Regions from separate parts of the Homo sapiens genome. Here region 2 is linked to region 1. The links are contacts of gene promoters, found by promoter capture Hi-C in human tissues and cell types (Jung and others, 2019). All regions are on one chromosome and are shown on one strand. The core of a region is centred on a gene start or on the middle of the fragment in contact, and the rest is flanking DNA. Distances in the headings are between cores, read along the strand shown.

Region 1 (5,756 bases), core at 3,178-5,677:
CACCTGCAGCGAGCTTGTAACATGCAAGTGTCCTGCACAAGACCAGTCCAGTCAGCTGTGGGCCCTCAAAAGCTCAGAGTCTGGCGGCGGGACATGCTGCAGAGCTGCTGCTAGCTCAGGCAGGTGGGAAAATTCAAAGCAAGACAGACAGAAGCCCGGGAAAGACGTCCAGTGGCGTCCAGTGCCTAGGCAGGCCCTGGGTGGTGGAGTTGGTACAGGGAAACTGGGCGTGCAGGTCTGGAGTTAGGGCAAGGACAGAGGGTACAATAGAGACAGAACAAGAGGTGGTGGCTTGGGGAGAGTGATGGAAGCTTTGATTTATGTGGGAGCAGATAACATTCAGGACAGATTGAGGAACTGGAAGGCATCTGGCAGTTTGGGTTTTATTAGGCAGTGAGGAACCATTTTGAACAGAGGACAAGAATATTTAGGGGGTGACCAAGCTTCCTAAATACAGGATGGGCTGAAACGAAGACCAGAGAGGAGGTGGGACCAAGGCCGGCTGGAGGAGCAGGGAGGGGGCAGCACTGAGCAGCCAGCAGAAAGGCACAGTCAGGGAGGGGAGGCCAGGGATGGCGACTGCATCCAGTTTCCCTGGGAGAGTCAAGATGTGGGAAGCAGAGCAGCTATCTGGACTTGAGGGTGTGTCTGACGGACACTCACTTGGAGAAGTGGTGCTCAGGAGACACTGAATCGGGAGCTGATGCTCAAGTTGAATTCCAGACCAGCAAGGAAGAGTCTAGAAAGAACTTCCCAGGGGCCAGGCAAGGAGGATGGCCAGCCAGCCAGCGTTAGGAGGAGTAGGATGGTGACCCAGGGTTTAGAGCCAAGGGTGCTATGTGAGGTGACCAGGGACTGCAGGTCACCAGAAGAGCAGGAGAAGGAGGTGGCTGGTGTTTGCTGAAGGACTGGGTGAGGGCAGGCACCCAGGGACAGCAAAAGGAGGCAGAGGCCCGAAGTGTTAGGGCAGGGGCAGGGAGGGACCAAGGGTAAGAGCCACAGAGGCGAGACAGCTCACTCTCTGAGCAGGAAGTGGGAAAGAGTCTGTGTGTGTGTGTGTGTGAGAGAGACGGGGGTAGGGGGGTGAGAGAGGCGGCCAGCGGCAGAGCAAAGGTGACAGCCCCACACCTCTTCTCCTCTAAACATCAGAATTTTAATTCAATAGACATGGATAATTCTTTTTACATTTGAGTTTCAAAACAGTACTTTGAATGTAGCAGGCATTCCATAAATGCCATCTGAGCAGACAGAGGGATTTGCGGCCAGTTGAATCCTAAGTGTTTGCTGAGGTCTGATACTCTGCAATTGCCTGTTTTAAGTTCAGCATCTTTAAGGTTCAGAGACATTCTTTTATGCAGTAGGCCAGAGAACTAAGAGCCGGAAAGGGCCTCTGAGATGCCCCGATCTCCCCACCTCGGGGAGGGGAGGGGTCTTTCCAGAGCCCCCACAGCCCTGCCTTCTGCATGGCCCCCACAGCCTAGACAGGGCCCCCACCAGACAGGTCCGCCTGCCCCATAGGCCTCACCACTCGGCCTCAGTCTAATGAGTTCTTCACCTGCTTCCTCGGCTTATTCTTGTAGGAGACGGGACTTCTAAAAGCAGTGAATTAAAGAAAAGATGTGAAGAGCTGGAAGCCCAACTGAAAGTGAAAGAGAACGAAAATGCTGAGTTGTTGAAAGAACTGGAGCAGAAAAACGCGATGATCACAGTGCTGGAGAACACCATCAAGGAGCGAGAGAAGAAGTACCTGGAGGAGCTGAAGGCCAAGAGTCACAAGCTGACCCTGCTGTCTAGCGAGCTGGAGCAGCGGGCCAGCACCATCGCCTACCTGACCTCCCAGCTGCACGCCGCCAAGAAGAAGCTCATGAGCTCCAGCGGGACCTCAGATGCCAGCCCGTCAGGGAGCCCCGTGCTGGCCAGCTACAAGCCAGCGCCCCCCAAAGACAAGCTACCCGAAACGCCTCGCCGCCGCATGAAAAAGAGCCTCTCAGCCCCCTTGCACCCGGAATTTGAAGAGGTCTACAGATTCGGGGCAGAGAGCAGGAAACTCCTTTTGCGGGAACCAGTGGATGCTATGCCCGACCCCACCCCATTTCTGCTGGCTAGGGAGTCCGCCGAGGTCCACCTCATCAAAGAGAGGCCCCTCGTCATCCCCCCCATCGCCTCCGACCGAAGCGGCGAGCAGCACAGCCCGGCCCGCGAAAAGCCGCACAAGGCCCACGTCGGGGTGGCACATCGGATCCACCACGCCACCCCGCCGCAGGCCCAGCCCGAGGTGAAGACCCTGGCGGTCGACCAGGTGAACGGAGGCAAGGTGGTGAGGAAGCACTCAGGGACGGACAGAACTGTGTGAAGCCCGCCGTGCCCCACCCCGCGCTGTCCATGCACTGTGAGCACCACTGGGAAATCTCAGCCACACCTTTTCTGTTTAATCCCATGCATGCCAAACACTTTTCACACCTACCGACCCATTCTCCTTCTGCTTCTCTTGCCCTCTTCTTCACACCAAAATATGATCGTGTCCCTGCCGCAGAATATGTATTTCCTAATTGCTGTGGCCAAACGCCTGTGTGCCGAATCGCTTGCTTCTGATCCCGCTCCGTGTAACCTAAGTGCGCTGCAGGCAAAGCCCAGGCCACGGCTGCGTCACTACTGATGTTCACGATGCCACACAGTCACACACCTAATTCATTCTCAAGTCGGAGCAACACATACCAACCTTGACCTTATCCTCAAGCTCCAGGGCAGCCTGGCCGAGCAGCCCCTGCTCCCTCCTGGAGACCCTTGTCACCTCCCGAGCTCCTCCTGGAGACCCCTGTCACCTCCTGACCAACCTTTCCCAGGGCGGCACCGATCACCGAGCAGCCGTGCGTGTATCTCAAGGAACTAAATAAGATGACGCTACTCCTCATAGCACCACAACCTGAATGTGTGTTCATATTTTTTTGTTAGTTTTATCCAAAATGTTTAAGATCCCAACAAACTTTATTTTCTAAACCTGCCTTCCTTCTGTTTTGTGTCTTTTATTAAACAAACACCTGAAGGAGGGCTAGGAGACTGCAGGAGGGAGAGCAATCACAGGTCCCAGAAGCGACTCCGGCCTCCTCCCGGCCCAGAGCTAGTCCTTAGAATGTGCTGCGCTCCTGAGCTTCTGTGGGAAGCTGCTTTTGCCTCTGATGGCCCCTGCCCACTGTGCTGCCCGTGCTAGCCCCTCTCCTCCCTCATGGAGTGAAGCCACCCCTCACCTCCAGGTGGCCAGCCAGGGCTCCAGGCCAGCCTCATGGTGCACAGAGGGAAGGGGTGCCCAGTGACCACTGGTCCTGGAGGTTCTGTGTCCTTACCTGACCCCACACAGACCCAGGCAGGCTGGGGGTAGAAGCTCATGCAGGAACTAAACACTAAGCTCAACAACTTCACAGTCGCCGTAGCAGGTCAGAGCCAAAGAAGCTAGGGCCAGAGAGTTCTGGAAGGGGGAGAAGTGGCTCCAGGTGACTGGTCACTTCTGCTCTGTGCCCGACATCATCAGCCCTTCTTGCCAAAAAGGAGCATCTGCTGAAACAGACCTGGATCATCGAAAACACACCTTTGGAAATTACATTAGGATTCTCACTTGTGCCAATGCTATGTATGCCAGGCACTTTTGCCTAATCAAGTGTTTTCTCTGAGAAGGAAAAGAAAACTCCACACATCTTAAAATACTCTCCAATATTTACTTTTTGATTATATAAATTCCTTTTAAAAAGTAGTATTAAAAACAAAACCATTCAGGTTAATTTGTATGGAAAGAGATTTAAGTGGCTGATTTCAAATGAAAAATCAGTGTCAGTCCCCCTCCTGCCTCTTGAGAGGCCCCAAGAAATGACAGCAGACCCGATCACTCTGACAACCCCAGGCTCCGAATTCATTAAGCAGTTTTCTTCACCCAAAGGTTAATCAGAATTCAGGGTGAGGCATACTCCTTGCAGCACCCAGTGAGAAATGTGCCTCGTGGTAAAGAGATCAGCTTCAAAAACCAAGCCGACTCCCATGGCGTTCCTTCTCATGGAGGTGGTGTAGACGGGGGTCCGGAAAGTATTCTGCAAGGGAAAGGCAGGTGAGATGCCCCCACGGAGAGAGGGTGCAGAGGGATAAAGGCAGAGGTGCAGTGTAAGTCTTGACAGGCAGGGGCCCCTGTGCAAGACTGCACCTGAGAACACGCACAAGGCTGGGGCTGCTCAGGGCCACCCTCCGCCAGCTTCACGGGGACCTGGCTTCACACTGACACCCTGGTTAAAAGTGGGTCCTGGCCCAGGCAGAGCAGAAGACATCTGCTGTCCACACCAGCGGGAACCACTTTATGACTCAGGCAATGTCTGCAGCATTTTGCAAGAAGGGAGGGAGTCTCCCCTTGGTTAGTCTAGACCACAGGATCACAGCTTGAGCCTGACACCTCTGGAAGGACCGGCATCCACACACACATACAGCCGCGCCTTTTCCAGGAAGCAGCTATCCGTAGCTTTTATCACGGCTCCAAGACTCTCCCCAGCCCATAAAGCTTAGGCACCCCTGTTTTAAAAAGTAGGACTGTTGGAAACCACCTCAGCCATAACTACAGTCAGAAGAGGAAGGGCCCTGGTGTCAGAGAGGAGGGGCTGGGACCTTCACCTGCAGCTTGAGGCGATGGGCTTCAATGGGGATGATCTTCAGGATCGGCAGGTCCACAACCAGCACCTTGGGTTTGCTCTTGATAAGACATCCTTTTTCTATATCCCAGTCAGCACCTTCCAGGTACAGTCCTGAGACAAAGCATCCTAGGGACACAAGGCAGAGACTGGATACAACTGGAGCATGCACAGCCTGCCACGGAGTGGCTCTATCAGGCGCACACACAGCGACACACAGGCCACTGGCTGGCCTCCTCCCCAGCGCATTGGGGACAGCCCAGGCCCTTCTCCAGCATTTCTGTCCTGCCCACCTTCCCTCTGTGGAGGAGCAGCCCAGACAGGAGACCCTGTGGCCCTGCCCCATGGCCCAGAGAAATGGGTGTGGGGCGGTGGCCTCTCCCCCAGGAATCCTCATTCCTGGGGCATCAAGGCCCACGGACTTAGACCACCCTGGGCCCCCAGGCTAGAAAGATGCATGGTCCCAGAGTCAGAATGGGCACCATGGCAACCCCAGCTACCCTGTGAGCCGAAGTGGCTGGGGAGCAGGAAGTCGAAGCCTCACAGAGAAAGTGGTCTCCGGGGAGGAGGACCCAGCAGATGTGCAAAGAGAGGAACACACTCCTGTGGCCCCAGAGAGAGTGGTGGCCCGGACACCTGCCACCTCCCCTGCCACTGAGACCTGGAGAGTCCCTGCATCTTTACCGTAAGTCCCCAGTCCTTAAGCCATCTCAAAAGAGCTTTTGTTCCTTGCAGTTAAAAGAACTCTAAGACAACATGGACCCGGGGAAACAGCAGTTTCCAGCTCTCATTTGCACAGTCAGTAACCAATGTCTAAGGGACCTGAAGTTCTGGCATAATCAAAGAGTTCCAACCAAGTTAGTCCATGCTGCTCTGTGGCTCCCATGCCCCTGGCCCCGTCAGGGGTTACAAGAAAGCCACCTGATGGTTTTTGCAAGAGCTAATTCTGACCTAGGAGCCCACTTGCCATGAGCTAGCAGAGTGAACATGGTTCAGGTCTCCCCTGCCATAGACCCCAGGTCTCAACGGAGAAAGTGGAAGAGAAACTTCCGTATCCACCCTCAGAGGTGTTAAGACATGGGCAGTGCAGAGACA
Region 2 (5,756 bases), core at 1,205-3,704, 440 kb before region 1:
CAGGCCGACAGGAGACCCCTGTTCCCTGCGAGACTCTGAGCATCTCCCATGTCCCAGCCACCGCCCGGGCAGCTCAGGGCACCCAGCCCTGAGTCTTTCCTGAGCCTCTGTCTGCCAAAAATAGATTCGGGAAGCAGGGGGAGCCCTCGGCCGCAGCCGCAGAACCCACATGCCACCACTTTCTCAGGCCGCCACAGGCTCGAACTCTCCTGGGAGAGGCTCAGGATTCGGGGCAGGGCTGGGACTGGGCCCAGGACGTGTGCGGGGTTGCAGAGCTGGGCATCCCTGTGGGCCCTGTGGGCACTGGCAGGGGCAGGGCTGTGGCCCTCTGGCCGACTGTTGGTGTCGGAAACTGTGACTAACGGACGAGCAGTCGTTTCCCTTTTCCTCCCTGCGTTCCAAGGGGCTGTGCTCAGAGGAACCCTGTTTGCTCAGGAAGAAGGCAGGACAGGAAGTGATCCCACTCCCTGCCTGTGGCTGGGGCTTGGAGCCCGAGACCCCCTCTCCTCCCCTCCATGAGGCCCAGCTCCAGCCTGGCCACGGTGAAGGGCTGGGGTGGGCGGGGCCCACCTGGCATTTGCCCGAGAGCAGGCTGTGTGGTCTGGACGTCAGCAGCTTTTTCTTGGAATCCGGGTGCACCAGCGCAGAGGGATGTGTGATTCCCCCTGGCTGCCGCAAGGAAGTACCACAGACCGGTGGCTTCAAACAACAGAGATGTATTCTCTTCCAATTCTGGAGGCTAGACGTCTGGAACCAAAGCGTCCACAGGGCTGTGCTCACATTCAAGGCTGCAGGGGAGCCTCTTCCGTCTTCCAGCGACTGCTGGCAGTTCGTGACATTCTTTGGCTTGTAGCTGCATCTCTCCACATGTGCCTCCACTGCCACAGGGCCTTCGTGTCCCTGAATCCGTGTTTCCCTTTTCTTCCAAGGCTGTCAGTCCTGTTGGATTTAGGGCCCACCCCACTCCAGTGTGGCATCATCTTAACTAATGACATATGCAGGATCCCGTTTCTAAATAAGGTCTGAGGTTCCGGGTTGATGTGAACTTTGAGGGACACCATTCAACCCAGTACAGGGCTCTTGGCTGAGAGCTGCGGGCACCTCCAGGTGTGGCGGAGGGCCCACCTCTTTCTCAGCAACCCCAGAGGGATCAGGCTGCCGCCCCCCCGTCACACCAGGCTGTGGTGGGCACCCCCCAGTGTCTTTCCAGTCCCCCTGGGAGTCCCCAGTCACTTCGAGATGCTGCCTCCACGATGCCCCTGCTCTCTGCTGTCTATGCGTTCAAGCCCACGAAGGCTGGCCTTTCACAGTTGCTCAGCAAGTCAGTCAACAAACGCTTTCTGAGCCTCTGCCTGGCTCAGCGTGGGGACAAAGAGACACCCACCCCAGTGAGCTACCAAGACGAGTGGTTTGATGATGGTGCCTAAGCTGGGGGAAGAAGAGTGGGCTCTGTGTGTGAGGAGCTGGGGTTCCCAGGAGCAGGGTGCGGTGCGGGGAAAGTGGAGGCCCGACGATGAGGGCTTCTTTCCATTCCTGGACACACCCGGCATGTTCCCCACACTGGGGCCTTTGCACCTGTGACTCCCCGCACCTGCCACTCTCGTCCAGAGCCTGGCCTGGCCCATTCCCTCCGCCGTCAAATCTTGGCTCAAATGTCACTTCCTTGCAGAAGCTCTTCCAGACTGTTCTGTCCAGAGGAGCCCCTGCCTTGTGCTCCTTGTCCCATCCTGTTTCACCCACGCGACCCTCTGATCCTCTGAGTGCTGCTTCTGTGTGAGGAGCACGTTGCCAGTCTCCCCAGCGGCAGGGCAGCCTCCAAGGGCAGGACCTTGTCTACCCCGTGCCTTGTGTCCCCACAGCCCTGGTATGCAGAGCTGGGCACACAGTAGGTGTTCTGTAAAGGTTCAGGGAATGAAACGCGAGCTTCCCAGGCTGGCCTGTTCCCCCAGGGACAGGTGAGACTTGCATAGCAAGGAAAAGCTTCCTGTGTTCATTCACTCCACGTGTGCCGATGAAGCTGACAGGGTGTCCCCAGGAGGCGTGGTCACTCGCTCTGACTAGGAGACTCCTGGGCAATGTCAGGCAGGTTCTCTCGTGCTCAGGAAGGATGTCAGGGTGGCTGAGGGGCCAGCCTGTACCCAGAGTGTATCTGGGGCTCAATGGAAGAATAAAGCCCCCGGTAAAAATAAACCCTGGCACGCTTGGCTGCCGAGGTGGGGTGTGAGGGGGACGGTCACCCTCATTGCTACATGGCCGGGATCACTGCCCTTTGCACCTGCGGCGAGGCCCCAGGCATGGGGAGTCCCCGAGCTGACAGCCCAGGCCCCAGTCCTGATCTGCTGCTTCCCTGTGCCCCAGGAGAAGGAGAGGAACGCGCGGAGGAAGAAGAAGAAAGCGCCGGCGGCGGCCAGCGAGGAGGCTGCATTCCCGCCCGTGGTGGAGGATGAGGAGATGGAGGCGTCGGGCGTGAGCGGAAATGAGGAGGAGATGGTGGAGGAGGCTGAAGGTGAGGGCTGGCGCGGCTTGGAGGTGGCTGGCAGCTGTGGGTCCGAGCTCTGAGGGAGGGCATAGCGGGAACTGATCCCGGCAGCCTCCTCTCCCCTGAGTCATCTGGGTCCTCCTTAGAAGGGGCCTCGACTCCCTGGAAGGTGCGGGCCTGACTTGCCAGAAACTCACCAGTAATGGGCACAAGGATGAAGGCCATAACAATACTGAGAATAATCAGCTTCTCTGGGAGCCCCAAGCCTCGCTCAGCTCTTCTGATGCCCATGAGTCCAGTCTTATGCTTGGGTGACCAGACGTCCAGGCCAGCCCTGTGGGTGCCTGCTGTCTTTCACCCCATCCGATGTCACAGTTTAGAAAAAAATTTACTTTGGAAAAGTTTTTTTTTGTTTTTTTTTTTTTCAGACGGAGTCTTGCTCTGTCGCCCAGGCTGGAGTGCAGTGACGTGATCACGGCCCAGTGTAACCTCTGCCTCTCGGGTTCAAGCAATTCTCCTGCCTCAGCCTCCTGAGTAGCTGGGATTAGAGGTGCCCGCCGCCACACCCGGCTAATTTTTGTATTTTTAGCAGAGATGGGGTTTCGCCATGTTGGTCAGGCTGGTCTCAAACTCCTGACCTCAGGTGATCTGCCCACCTTGGCCTCCCAAAGTGCTGGAATTACAGGTGTGAGTCACCACGTCAGGCCCGAAAATTGTTTTTTGACCAGAACTCTTTTACAAGGTAACCAGCATAAATAGAACCTATCTGTCAGTCGGTAAATATTGTACAAGTTATATAGTTATTTTCAGTGTCTCCTTTTATTCCCAAGTGTCCCTATTTGAGTGATAAATAATTCAGTCCCCTTCTTTGGTGTCCCCGTTTTCTCTATGGGGAAACCGAGGCTCAGGCACTTAAAGGCCTGGGCCCAGGCGCCCCAGGTACCACGGAGTGTGTTGTTTGCACCAGCTGTAGACTAGACAAATGCCCCACCAGGTGAGTGCTGCTGAAGAGAGGGCGTAAAGCCATCGTGTGCATGGTGCTGGTGGGTCCCCCCGAGTCCCCTCAAATGCAGGACTGTGACCACATGAGCTGTGTGTTGTCCAGGGCTCCGGATAACACACGGCTCAACTTTGTTATCAGTGTGTATAGACCCGGGAACTGAACACGGGCTGCCGACACCTGGCCCCGCACTCTCGGTCACGAGTGCATCCACCTTCGACCCCCACCCTGTGCCTCTTTTTCCCTGTCAAAGGGGAAGCTGGGGGTCTAGACTGCTCCCCCTGTGGCGTGACCGAAGGCCCCTGGAGGACCTCAGCCCTTCTCTGCTGAGTGTCCCTGACTCTCCTTTCTGACTCTCTGAAGGAGAAACAAGCAGCCCGGCGGAGCCCAAGTCCTTGGTGAATTCAACCCTCCTTCCTCCTGCCCCGTCTGGGGTCCTTCTTGTTGTTCCTGTTGTCCCTCCCTCTCTGCCTTTGAACGCCCTGGCTTCTCCCTGGCAGAAGGTGCAAGTCACCTCCTGGTTCCATAAGCCCAGCCTGCAGATAAATCCAGGCTCCTCCAGCCCGCAGGGTTTCACCAGCCCGAATCCCCGCTTCCCGCTGGAAATGGGCAACTGGGCCCTTGGGTGACTCATCTCAAGTTGGGGGCGGGTCAGGGACACTGAGTCTGGCCTCCCCACCAGCTTTGGGTCTCTCTGACCCAAGTTGACCAGAAGCCTGGCTAGTGTCTGATGGAAGGAAGGCCTGGGCCACGAGTCCCTTGGGTCGTCCCATTTTGGGTCCTGGGTCTGTAGCCAGGAGAAGACCCCGGGAGCAGAAACCCAGTCCCCTCTGTAAATATCCCTCCAGTGTCTGAATGGGCGGGATGCAGGCTTGGTGGGAGCATTTCAGGAAGCCAAGCCATGGCCACACATTAAAACCGGAGCAGACGCCACCCAGGACTGTGTGGCAACGACCCCCGCATCGCTTGCAGAGCTTACGTAGCCCCGTAGGGACGGGGAGGGGCATGCTCTGCTGGGTGGGGGAGGAGGGAGGGCTGAGGTGGCTGGAGCTGAGGCTTCTGTGACAGTGGTGGTCTTCCGTGGCTGCTCTGAGAGATCAGGGACGGCAGGTGAGAGGCCCTGATTAAGCCTCCTGGTGCCCAGGGTGTTAGCCCATCTTAAGGACGAGGAGCCCAGGGGAGAGGAGAACCCCTCCCATGGGGTGTCCCAGCACATAGCCGGTAGGCTCGGGGTCTGCCGGCCCAGCCAGCGCACGCTGCGTGACCTGTCTCTTGTGCTCAGGATGGGGAGGTGAGGCAGGTGCTGGGTTGGAGCCTGAGGTTGCCCTGCCTGAATCTCCCCGGAGACCCAGCCAGCCCCAGCGGCACTGCAGGCCCCTCCCCGGGGGCAGTGGAAAGCGTCTTGTTGCATCTGGGCTGGAAATACACCAGCGCGGGGCTGGGAGTGATACCCTGGCCCAGTGGTTTCTCCAGTAATAATAATAGTATCCTCATAGTGAATGAAGCCATGCTGTTCTCCGCATTTGACAGATGGGGAGACTGAGGCATAGCGGGGTTATCCAAGGCGCATTTGGTGACCGGGGTTCAAACCCAGGCAGCCCGGTACTGGGGACCTCCAGGCAGAAAGGAAAGGAGGCCATCTGGTGGTGTGTTTCTATTTTTTATTTTTGGTGGTTTTTTGGTCACTCTTGTTAAGCACCTACTGTGTGTCAGATGCTGCACAAAGCACTTCACCTGGATTCTAGGGCAGCGGTGGCAGAGTGTTCCCTGGGATTTGTTAGAAGTGCTGATTCTTGGGCCCCAGTCCACACGTACTGAATCAGAAACCTCGGGGCATAGTGCAGCCACCTGCACTGTCACAAGCCCTTGGAGTGCTTCTCATGCAGGCTCCTGCCCCAGACCCCCTTGATAACTGTGAGACCGAGAAGTTAACTGCCCATTTTGTAGATGAACAAACTGAGACCCAGAAGTTTCATCCCTGGTCCTGGGGCCCTCAGCGTTGGCCTCCCAACGTCCTGTACTCTGACTGTGGAAGGAAGGGAATGACATTGCTGAAGTCACCAGGCAGAGGAAGGCCAGGGGTTAAGGACACAGGAAGCTGGGCTCAGTGCTCTCCCCTCCACAGCGTGGCCTTGGGCAAGCTGATTAACCTGTCTGCCTCCATTTCCTCATCTGCACATGAGAGTTGGTGGTCCCAGTCTTAGAGGTCTTAAAGGAGTCGTGTGTGAAGAACTCGGCACGGAGCCTGGCCTGTATGCAGCCAGCGTTGCTGCTGTT

What was found. The method cuts DNA at HindIII sites, captures the fragments that hold promoters and counts their contacts. A contact is called where the count stands out against the background at its distance.
Region 2: a fragment that was not itself captured here is called in contact with the fragment with the promoter of DNAH10OS in region 1 in 2 of the 25 tissues and cell types used here (heart right ventricle and spleen).

What each region holds. Positions count from the first base shown.
Region 1 is chr12:123,933,655-123,939,410 of GRCh38, reverse strand. DNAH10OS (dynein axonemal heavy chain 10 opposite strand) reads left to right here and starts at 4,427. Exons shown (of 2, transcript NR_187476.1): 1 at 4,427-5,346. DNAH10 (dynein axonemal heavy chain 10) reads right to left here. Exons shown (of 79, transcript NM_001372106.1): 78 at 4,645-4,790; 79 at 3,697-4,076. The coding sequence ends at 3,930. CCDC92 (coiled-coil domain containing 92) reads left to right here. Exons shown (of 5, transcript NM_025140.3): 5 at 1,581-3,785. The coding sequence ends at 2,353. RefSeq lists enhancers at 361-861, 862-1,362. The HindIII fragment of the contact is 2,982 bases long and covers 2,490-5,471 here.
Region 2 is chr12:124,374,987-124,380,742 of GRCh38, reverse strand. It overlaps NCOR2 (nuclear receptor corepressor 2), which reads left to right. Exons shown (of 49, transcript NM_006312.6): 20 at 2,359-2,506. Among named protein-coding and RNA genes, the nearest start is that of MIR6880, 41 kb to the right of the region's middle. The HindIII fragment of the contact is 9,661 bases long and covers 1-5,756 here.